Linked DNA regions of Homo sapiens: all the other regions are linked to region 1. Evidence: promoter capture Hi-C in 16 types of primary human blood cells and fetal thymus (Javierre and others, 2016). All regions are on one chromosome and are shown on one strand. The core of a region is centred on a gene start or on the middle of the fragment in contact, and the rest is flanking DNA. Distances in the headings are between cores, read along the strand shown.

Evidence for each region. Contacts are between HindIII fragments. The CHiCAGO score rates a contact against its expected background, and 5 or more counts as called.
Region 2: a contact is called between the fragment with the promoter of MMGT1 here and the fragment with the promoter of ENOX2 in region 1, in 1 of 17 cell types (activated CD4 T cells). The highest score is 6.1, in activated CD4 T cells.
Region 3: the fragment with the promoter of THOC2 here is called in contact with the fragment with the promoter of ENOX2 in region 1 in 3 of 17 cell types (total CD4 T cells, non-activated CD4 T cells and naive CD8 T cells); the score reaches 8.9 in total CD4 T cells.

What each region holds. Positions count from the first base shown.
Region 1 is chrX:130,901,869-130,904,880 of GRCh38, reverse strand. ENOX2 (ecto-NOX disulfide-thiol exchanger 2) reads left to right here and starts at 1,672. Exons shown (of 15, transcript NM_006375.4): 1 at 1,672-1,832. RefSeq lists enhancers at 1,457-1,646, 1,267-1,786, 1,657-1,926, 1,787-2,306. The HindIII fragment of the contact is 1,854 bases long and covers 1,183-3,012 here.
Region 2 is chrX:135,972,727-135,975,465 of GRCh38, reverse strand. MMGT1 (membrane magnesium transporter 1) reads left to right here and starts at 1,478. Exons shown (of 4, transcript NM_173470.3): 1 at 1,478-1,869. The coding sequence starts at 1,791. It also overlaps a transcript of SLC9A6 not described here. RefSeq lists a silencer at 1,280-1,389 and an enhancer at 1,400-1,929. The HindIII fragment of the contact is 2,640 bases long and covers 195-2,739 here.
Region 3 is chrX:123,731,389-123,734,441 of GRCh38, reverse strand. It overlaps THOC2 (THO complex subunit 2), which reads left to right and starts at 1,390. Exons shown (of 39, transcript NM_001081550.2): 1 at 1,390-1,490. The coding sequence starts at 1,420. RefSeq lists an enhancer at 1,375-1,454. The HindIII fragment of the contact is 10,140 bases long and covers 1-2,262 here.

The DNA of each region.
Region 1 (3,012 bases), core at 423-2,922:
ATAATACCCTAGCTATGTGTTCCCAGTATGTTCTATGTGTATATGCTTTAAAAAATAAACACTATATAAGCACAAAAATTCCTCTGATGGTTCTCTCCCACTTTCAAGTTAAATTATGAACTAATTGATATGACCCCTTGTTGCTGCCTGATCTAGTCTCTGCAATATGGAACTTTTGCTATTGTTCTCTGCACTCTTTCATGCCTTTATGCCTTTGCATATGCTTTGTATAGAATATGGTTGACCTCCCTGCCCCAAATCTGACAAATATTTTACTGGTTCTTCAACCAGTTCTCCAGAAGTAGAACAAGTTCTTCCTCCTCTATGTTCCTATAGAACCCTATGTAGACTTCTTTACAGCATTTTGCACATTGTATACTCATCTATTCCTCCCCCCAGATTCTCCTCTACTACAACTCCCCTCACCTGGATTTTGAGCTACTTGAGGGTAGGGACTATTTTTCCAATTCTGTGGCAACAGTGCCTAGCCCAGAGCTTTGCACAAAGCACTATGCTGAATAAATGGTTGAATTTATTAAATCGTCTTCCTCCTTCACTTATCTTTTTAAAATATTGGGCAATTACCTCAGCAAAATGCAATTCCCCTGTCTTTCCCTTCATTTTACTCGTGAGTCGAAAAGTTGTCCTCATCAAGAAGTTGTAGTAATTCAACTGTAACAAGGCTACAAGGATTCATCTCTAACAGAGAAAAAAAAAGGTCAAAAGTTGGGAGTGAAATTAGCCCTAATAAACAACCATTTTCCTCAACCTTTAAGTCACTTGGAAGTGCTTGGCATTCCCCACCTATGTCTTTATCCAGCTCTTGTAACATATTTTTACTCAAAAGGTTAAGTTTCTTAAAGACACATATAGTTACTCGTTTGTACTTAAGTTGTATTGTCTATCTGTTCTAAATTGTTATTTATAGCAGTTTATGTGGCCACTGTTTTTCATGGCAACAACATAGCTTCATTATGGATTAAATAGGCTTCTTCTGGGCTGGTGTAGATCACATTTCTATGCCTATTTATGACACTGTTTCCAGGGGGAACTATAATTTCCAATTAGAAAAAAATATATACATTCTTCCATACCTTTCAAGTGATTTTAATGCAGGTGGTTCACAAGGAACACACTTTAACAATTTTAAAGGACTATAACTCTCAATTAAAATTCTAAGCTTACCAAAGAATAAACATCATCTTTTGAAAAACACTTAAAACTCAATAACAATTTCAAATCACGATAGAAAGTGCTTCCCGCAAAATGCTAAGAGCTTAACCGACATGAAAATAAATCTAGAGCCTTCGTCTGTCCCCACAAGCACAAACCCATAACCCCAAGAGAGATTCTCTAGACAGTGCACCCAAACTACAATACCCAGAATACCCTTCCCCGTCTGAACGCTGGGGACAATCGGAAGGGGAGGGGAAGAATTGTGCGTATAGAGAAATAAGTGTCCCGCAACTCCATCTCCCATAATTCTCGGTCCTCACTTGTGTCTGTCTGCCAATGTCAACACGAGTTACCCCCAGGAAGAACAGCCTCCAGCGACCTCAAACTACATTTCCCATGAAGCCATGGGCTCGGGCCTCCGGCTTCCCCGGTGACCAGTAGCCAATAGGAGACGCCGCAGTGGGCACCCTGTGTGTGAGAGTCCAGCCTTGGGCCAGAGTGCCGGGTCTAGGCCTGGAAGCGCGAGGCGGGCATTTCGGAAGAGAGTGGCGCGGCGTGGGGCGCCGCGAGGGCACTACGAGCCCAGGAACTGCCGCGCCGGCCCGATTTTCCGCGGCTGTATAAGGACTAGCGCTTCGGTAGCCGGGGAGCTGGAGGTCAGAGAGGCAGAAAGCCCCGGTGGCCGTGGCTGGGGACTGTGGGACTGAGGGGGCCTAGGGAGGAGGGTGCTTCCGGGGCCGCGGTCCTCAGCGCCTAACTCCACCCAGCTCCACCTCTGCAGGGGAGGGGGTATCGGGACTGGGAGTCGGGGGTGGGCTTTTGAGCTCTAGGCGCCAGTTCTCTTGAGCCCGGGAGCGCGCTGTCTTTGCTCTTTTTTTTTTTTTTTTTTGGTCCAACTCGCCCGCCCCTTTTTTTTTTTCCCACGACGCCGCCCCCCTCCCCCTGGCTCTGTGCCTCCTCAGAGGTCCGAAGTTGGGGTTTGCGTCCAGGGTTTTGCCTAGGCGGTGACTGGACTCTAATTCTTACCGCAGGAATTGGGTGATCTCTTTCCTCTTTTCCCTCAATTTGTATTTCAGGTTTGGGCACATAACCCTCCCTGCGCTACACTCCCCATTTTCTTTGGGGCATGGGAATTCCTTGCCACGCTCAGGGCGTGACTTTTTTTTTTCAAACTTTCTCTTTTTGCCTCCTTAATTGATCGCCATCTCTTTACTGGCCCCTCAGCCACCTGCCACTTCCCCCACCAGGTCTTTGAAGTGGGGAGAGTTTCCCCTCAATTTCTAGAAGGGATGGGAAGCAAAAGAGGGAAGGAATCTTGCTTTTGAGAAATGTGTGTTTAAGGTTCAGTGCAGGGTTCTGGTGAGAGTAAAAGGCAAGTTAGACTGGTTATAAAAATCCAGCGCTTTAGGGGTTTCCAGCAAAGACTGATAGCACTAATGTTGACAAACATTTAGGGGGCACACCTTTATTCTACAGAATAAAGTAGACCGTGTGAAACAGACCATATTAATCATTGTATTATTACAAACGTGTGCAAAAAACGCTAAGAGGGGTCAGTGGAAGAGCATACTGATGGGGGTGGTGAGTTCATCTATGGAAGTTCAAGCCTAACCCGGGAAGTGCTGAAGCCCTCATCCGGCTTTCAGGCTTTGTGAAGGAGGTGAATTTTAATCTGGGCTCCAGCAGAGTACAGGGGATTTGAAGTTGTCAAAGAGGAGGGAGAAAATGCTTCCTGCTACTGAGATTGGACTTTGAGAAGGGTAAACAGAAGAGGGAGCACTGTGAGACAGGTGGGCTTGCCTGATTGGAATAAAAGATATCAGCACAAATATACTG
Region 2 (2,739 bases), core at 229-2,728, 5.1 Mb before region 1:
TGATATAAAAAGTAGAACAGAATAAGGGGATCAGGAATAGGAATTTTGCACATTTAAAAGGGGTGGTCAGGATAGGACGCATCTTTGAGCAAAAGCAAATTGATGCAACTAAAACGTAGAATTCTGATTGGGTTAAAGGAAAAGAATGGTGATCATACTTTGCATTTACCTTGTGATATGCAGTTTACAAAGCTTTGCCACTCAGTCAGGGGTCACTGGAGGAACTGGTGCAGAATTTGGAAAAAAAGGATGAATTCCATTTTAGCCATATTACGTTTTAAGTGCCACAGGAAATAAATGCCTATCTGGTAGTCAGAAATGCAGCCCTGGAGCTAAGGAGAGATATTTGTGATAGAGATGTCGATTTGGAATCACTGTAATACCTTTGCTGGCTGAAGCGGTGGGAATGAATGGGTGAGCTCCCCAGGGGACAGCAGAGTGATGAGGTCAAGGGGAGAAGCTCACTATTAAATGTCTACATTTCAGGAGATGAAGACAAAGAAAAATGGGCAGAGGAGTATACATTTTACCCGGATCAGAGATAGAGACAAGGCAAGAAGGCTGCGTTATTAGCATTTTAAAATTTCCTCTTTCATTTCTTCCTTAATGTAAGCTGGTTCTTTTCACGACAAAACACTCCCCCCGCGCTACACCTCTTTTTGCGCGAATCTTTCTCCAGGACCTTAAAATGGTTTACTGAGCACTTCCCGCGAGCCAAGTATTTGGGGTTCCAGATCCTGGGATTTTGTCCTGACACTGCCTCCTCGTTTTAACACCCTTGCCTCCTTCTGCAGTGCCAGTTTCCAGGGAGCTGAAGCACAGGAAAGGCCTACAGAAAACAAAAGGCACAGTTTCACAAAAAGCCAAAACCAACCAACCCACAAAACACAACTGTCAGGGGTCTATATCCAGCACCTACCGCCTTTCCCCAACGCCCCCAGCCCCGCCCCTCGGCCCCACCTCCTCCCGCCCCTCGGCCCCACCTCCTCCCCGCCCCCTCGGTCCCACTCCTCCGCGCCCCCTCGGTCCCACCTCCTCCCCGCCCCTCGGTCCCACCTCCTCCCCGCCCCCTCGGCCCTCACCCACTCTCCGTCCCCTCCGCCCCGCCCCCTACGCCCCACCCATCCTCCCGTAGGCCCCGCCCTCGGCCCCACCTCCTCCCCGCCCCTCGGCCCCACCTCCTCCCCGCCCCTCGGCCCCACCTCCTCCCCGCCCCTCGGCCCCACCCATCCTCCCCGCAGGCCCCGCCACTCGACCGCACCCACCAGGGCCCCCCCCCCCCGGCTACGCCCACCCACCCACCCACTGGCCCCGCCCCTCGGCTACACCCACCCTCGTGCGGGCCCCGCGCGTCTTCCCCACCCCGCCCGTCTGCCTACCCCGCCCCTCGCCCCCACACGTTCTCTACGCAGGCCCCCGTCCCTCTGCCCCACCCTGTTCTCGCCACTGGCCCTGCCCCCATTTGCCGGCGCCCTTCCTCTTCGCTTCCCCGTAGCTCCCGCTTTCGCCTCTTCGTTTATGACTCCGTTGGGCTCCGGCCCTCCTAGAGAGGCCTCCATAGCGCAGGTTCGTGGGTTCTCGCGGACCTTTTTCCGTGTAGCTTTCTGCTTCTTCCCGGCATTCCTGTTTCCGTTTTCTCACAGCCCTCTGGCTTTTCCACCACTGAGACACTTTGCGCTCAGGACTTCAGTGACGTCATCTTTCTGCGGCGCGCGGACACCCGCCGGTGGAAGAAGAAACAGCTCCGCCGTCCTTCGCTTCTTTTGCTGGGCTGCTGCTCCTTCGGCATCATGGCGCCGTCGCTGTGGAAGGGGCTGGTGGGCATCGGTCTCTTTGCCCTAGCCCACGCCGCCTTTTCCGCTGCGCAGCGTAAGTGCCTGGGGCACGGGGACCGCTTCGGTGTGGAACCCTAGGGGCGGTGTGTGGGCGCACTTCTAAGGGACCATCGGACCGAGTGTCAGATTAATGGTCCTTTGAGACCTTACAGTTTGGGGTGACTAAGAAAATCAGTGCAGGAGTTCCCAGTGGAAGGTTCGGAGTTTGAATTTGGAGAGAGTGTGGCACCTGAAATTGCAGGAAGGTTGGAAGGAGGTGTCTGGGAGAGGGTTCAGAATAGGAGTCTCCAGGAATCCAGGACAAGTGATGTCAGATCCAGCATGGGGCAGATCAGGCACAGTTGTGAGATTGAGGACTCTGGTTGCTCATGGTCCCACGACAACCAAGTGGACAACATCTTGGGCACTCTTGGGCTGTCCAGGCAGAGACTGAGTAGTTAAGTGACCGATTGCCTCAGGGAGGCACTGTGGTACAGGAGAAAGAGCACTGGACTGGGAGTCTAAAGGACTGGTTGTTAAAAACTTGCATTACCGCTACATCTGTGTGACGTTGGGCAAAAGATTTGTGCTACACTGCGTTATGAAATTCAGTTTTGGGTCGCTGTTTGAAATTGCGCTGTGTTTAGGTGCTAGAGATACAGTGATGCCCTGAGCCAGTTCAAAGTCTAAAGGAAAACAAGTGGATCAAGAAGTAGTTACAATAAAGTGATATGCTAAAAGTATATAAGGATGCATGGAAGCAGGGACAGTCATATTTTGGGGGAACTGGGAGGTTAAGGAAAGTATCCTAGATCCTTGCTGCTTACAGTGTGATCAACAGACCAGCATCATGAGCACCACCTGGCAGGTAATTAGAAGATACTCAGGCCAGACCTGTTCAATCAGAATCTGGGTTTTAATAAGA
Region 3 (3,053 bases), core at 141-2,640, 7.2 Mb after region 1:
CACTTCCCAGTAGCGGCGGCCGGGCAGAGGCGCCCGTCACCTCCCGGACGGGGCGGCCGGCCGGGCGGGGGGCCGACCCCCCCACCTCCCTCCCGGACGGGGCGGCCGGCCGGGCGGAGACGCTCTTCACCTCTCAGACGGGGCGGCTGCCGGGCGGAGGGTCTCCTCACTTCTCAGACGGGGCGGCCGGGCAGAGACGCTCTTCACCTCCCAGACGGGGTCGCGGCCGGGCAGAGGCGCTCCTCACATCCCAGACGGGGCGGCGGGGCAGAGGCACTCCCCACATCTCAGACGATGGGCGGCCAGGCAGAGACGCTCCTCACTTCATCCCAGACGATGGGCAGCCGGGCAGAGACGCTCCTCACTTCCTAGACAGGATGGCGGCCGGGCAGAGACGCTCCTCACTTTCCAGACTGGGCAGCCAGGCAGAGGGGCTCCTCACATCCCAGACGATGGGCGGCCAGGCAGAGAGGCTCCTCACTTCCCAGACGGGGTGGCGGCCGGGCAAAGGCTGCAATCTCGGCACTTTGGGAGGCCAAGGCAGGCGGCTGGGAGGTGGAGGTTGCAGCGAGCCGAGATCACGCCACTGCACCCCAGCCTGGGCACCATTGAGCACTGAGTGAACGAGACTCCGTCTGCAATCCCGGCACCTCGGGAGGCCGAGGCTGGCGGATCACTCGCGGTTAGGAGCTGGAGACCAGCCCGGCCAACACAGCGAAACCCCGTCTCCACCAAAAAAATACGAAAAACAGTCAGGCGTGGCGGCGCGCACCTGCAATCGCAGGCACTCGGCAGGCTGAGGCAGGAGAATCAGGCAGGGAGGTTGCAGTGAGCCGAGATGGCAGTACAGTCCAGCTTTGGCTCGGCATCAGAGGGAGACTGTGGAAAGAGAGGGAGAGGGAGACCGTGGGGAGAGGGAGACGGGAGAGGGAGACGGGAGAGGGAGAGGGAGAAGGAGAGGGACCCGATTATTTTCTTTTATCTCAGCAGTCAGCAGGGCGTAATGTAATTTATTTGCTTATATTTATGGCTTTCCCAAAGACTATTATTTCTCTATTCCCAGTGTCTAGCACATATTAGGTGCTTGAAAAATGCGTGTTTGTATTAGTGGTTAGGGGTAGATATTACGGAAGAAGATGAAGTCTACTTGTTGGCCTGTGGATGGCATTTCTCTGTTCTAATGGGAAGTAAGGCCGAAGACTTCGGAGGGCGCAACCCGTGTAGTAACCTCGCAAAGGGGCCCGCGAGTCTCCACGTCGTTGGCTGCCTTGCCTCGGGTTTCCGCTGGGTGGAGAGGAAAGTGGGGCGGGAAATCGAAAAACGAACTCTCAGCTCCCGGCATTCCTCGTGGGCGGTGCTCCCCTTTGACCCTTCGCTCGCGTGCTACACATCCGGGCTTCTGCTACTAGTGAGAGGAAGATGGCGGCCGCGGCTGTGGTGGTTCCCGCAGAGTGGATAAAGAACTGGGAGAAATCAGGGAGAGGCGAATTGTGAGTGTTCGGGCCGGAGGCAGGCGCACTGCCGGGCCGGGCCAGGGCGTCAGCTGCACTCTCACCTGTAGTGGGAGGTTGAGGGGGAAAGATGTACCCCCTCCCCCACCCGGGCGGCGGGCGTGGATGGTCGTCTAGGAGTTTCGAACTCGGGGAGAGGTGCTGTTTACCGCCGCGGACCTCCTTCCTTCCCTGGCCTCCCAGAAATCGCTACTGCCTGCGGTAGCTCGGCTTCCTTTAGCCTCTTAGTAGAACTCTTATTCCGCCCCTGCAGGTCTCCGCGCTCCCTCTTGGTCTCTTTTTGTGTCCCCCTCTTCGCTTGATCTCACTTGGCTCCTTTATCTTTATGGGGCTGAGCCGGGGCAATTCGGACTTTCCATCTCTCTCTGTGCCATTTCTTCACTCTGCACCCGTTGGACTCCGCAGTTTGGAGCTTGGCGCCTCCTCTGCCTGAAGTCCAAGGAGGGCGAACCGTCCCGGATTCCCCTCCCCTCCTCTTCGCCCGCTGCCGCGAAGCCCGGGGCGCCGCGAAGAACCCGGTTTGGCACCTCTCGCCCTCCCGGGGAGCGGTCTCTCGACTGTCCCGGCCTCGCGTAGCGCCGTGGGGAAGTGTGGCAGGGATTGCCGCTTTCCCTGAAGAACCACCGACATTTCTTTGCTCCGTCTTTTCACCTTAGAGCTATTTCGGGTTGGATTCAACTTTCGTCATTAAATGTTCCCTAAACCCCATTTTATCCTGGGACTGCAACTAATTCTGGCAGCTCTCCAAGCTTCTCCAGTACCTAGGATAACGCGTTTCCTTTAGTCGTGAAACTTTCCCCCGTAACACCGAAAACAGTAATTTGCCATACCCCTAGTCTTCTCGCCCCCACGTTAGAGCGCTCCCTCCTCCCCTTCCCCTGGAAGGAGTCGTTTAAGCAGCAAAGCAAACCTCAGATATAAGAACAAATATTAATAACATCTCATTTCCTTCTCTGGGTCGCTTTTAGATGCTAAAGCTCAACCCTGGATGAAATTAACCCTCGTTAGCCATTTTTGTCGTCCTTGCCCACCCCTCTCCATTTCTAGTAGCCAGTTTACCGTGGCTCATGCTAAAGATTCAAATCTTTGTAACTTCGTTACTTGGAACGAAACACGAGGAACGCGTTGCCGGATCCCGCGCTTGTAATAGTGCCAGCCTATGTGGCTTCCTCCCCCGCACCCCCCGCACTGCTGTATGAAGTCTTAACAGTGTGAGCTCTAGAATTCCCTAAATAAGCGGCTGTCTTAGCCACTTAAGTAGCTGAGTGACCTTGGGTAAGTTCCTTAACCACTTGGACTGTTTCCCCTTGAGTAAATTGGGAATAATAAGTACTCTACTCAAAGGATTGTTGTGAAGACTAAATAATGCCTGTAAAGCACTTGGCTTATAGTAAGTGCTCAAGTGATAGCTATTAAAAGTAATATTATTCCAACCTTTAGATATTTAAACTTCTCAGGACAGCTCATGCACTTAAAGTCTGTACCACTCAGGTTAGCAATTAATTGGTCTCTGACTTATTCATGTGTGTTTATTCTTGCACT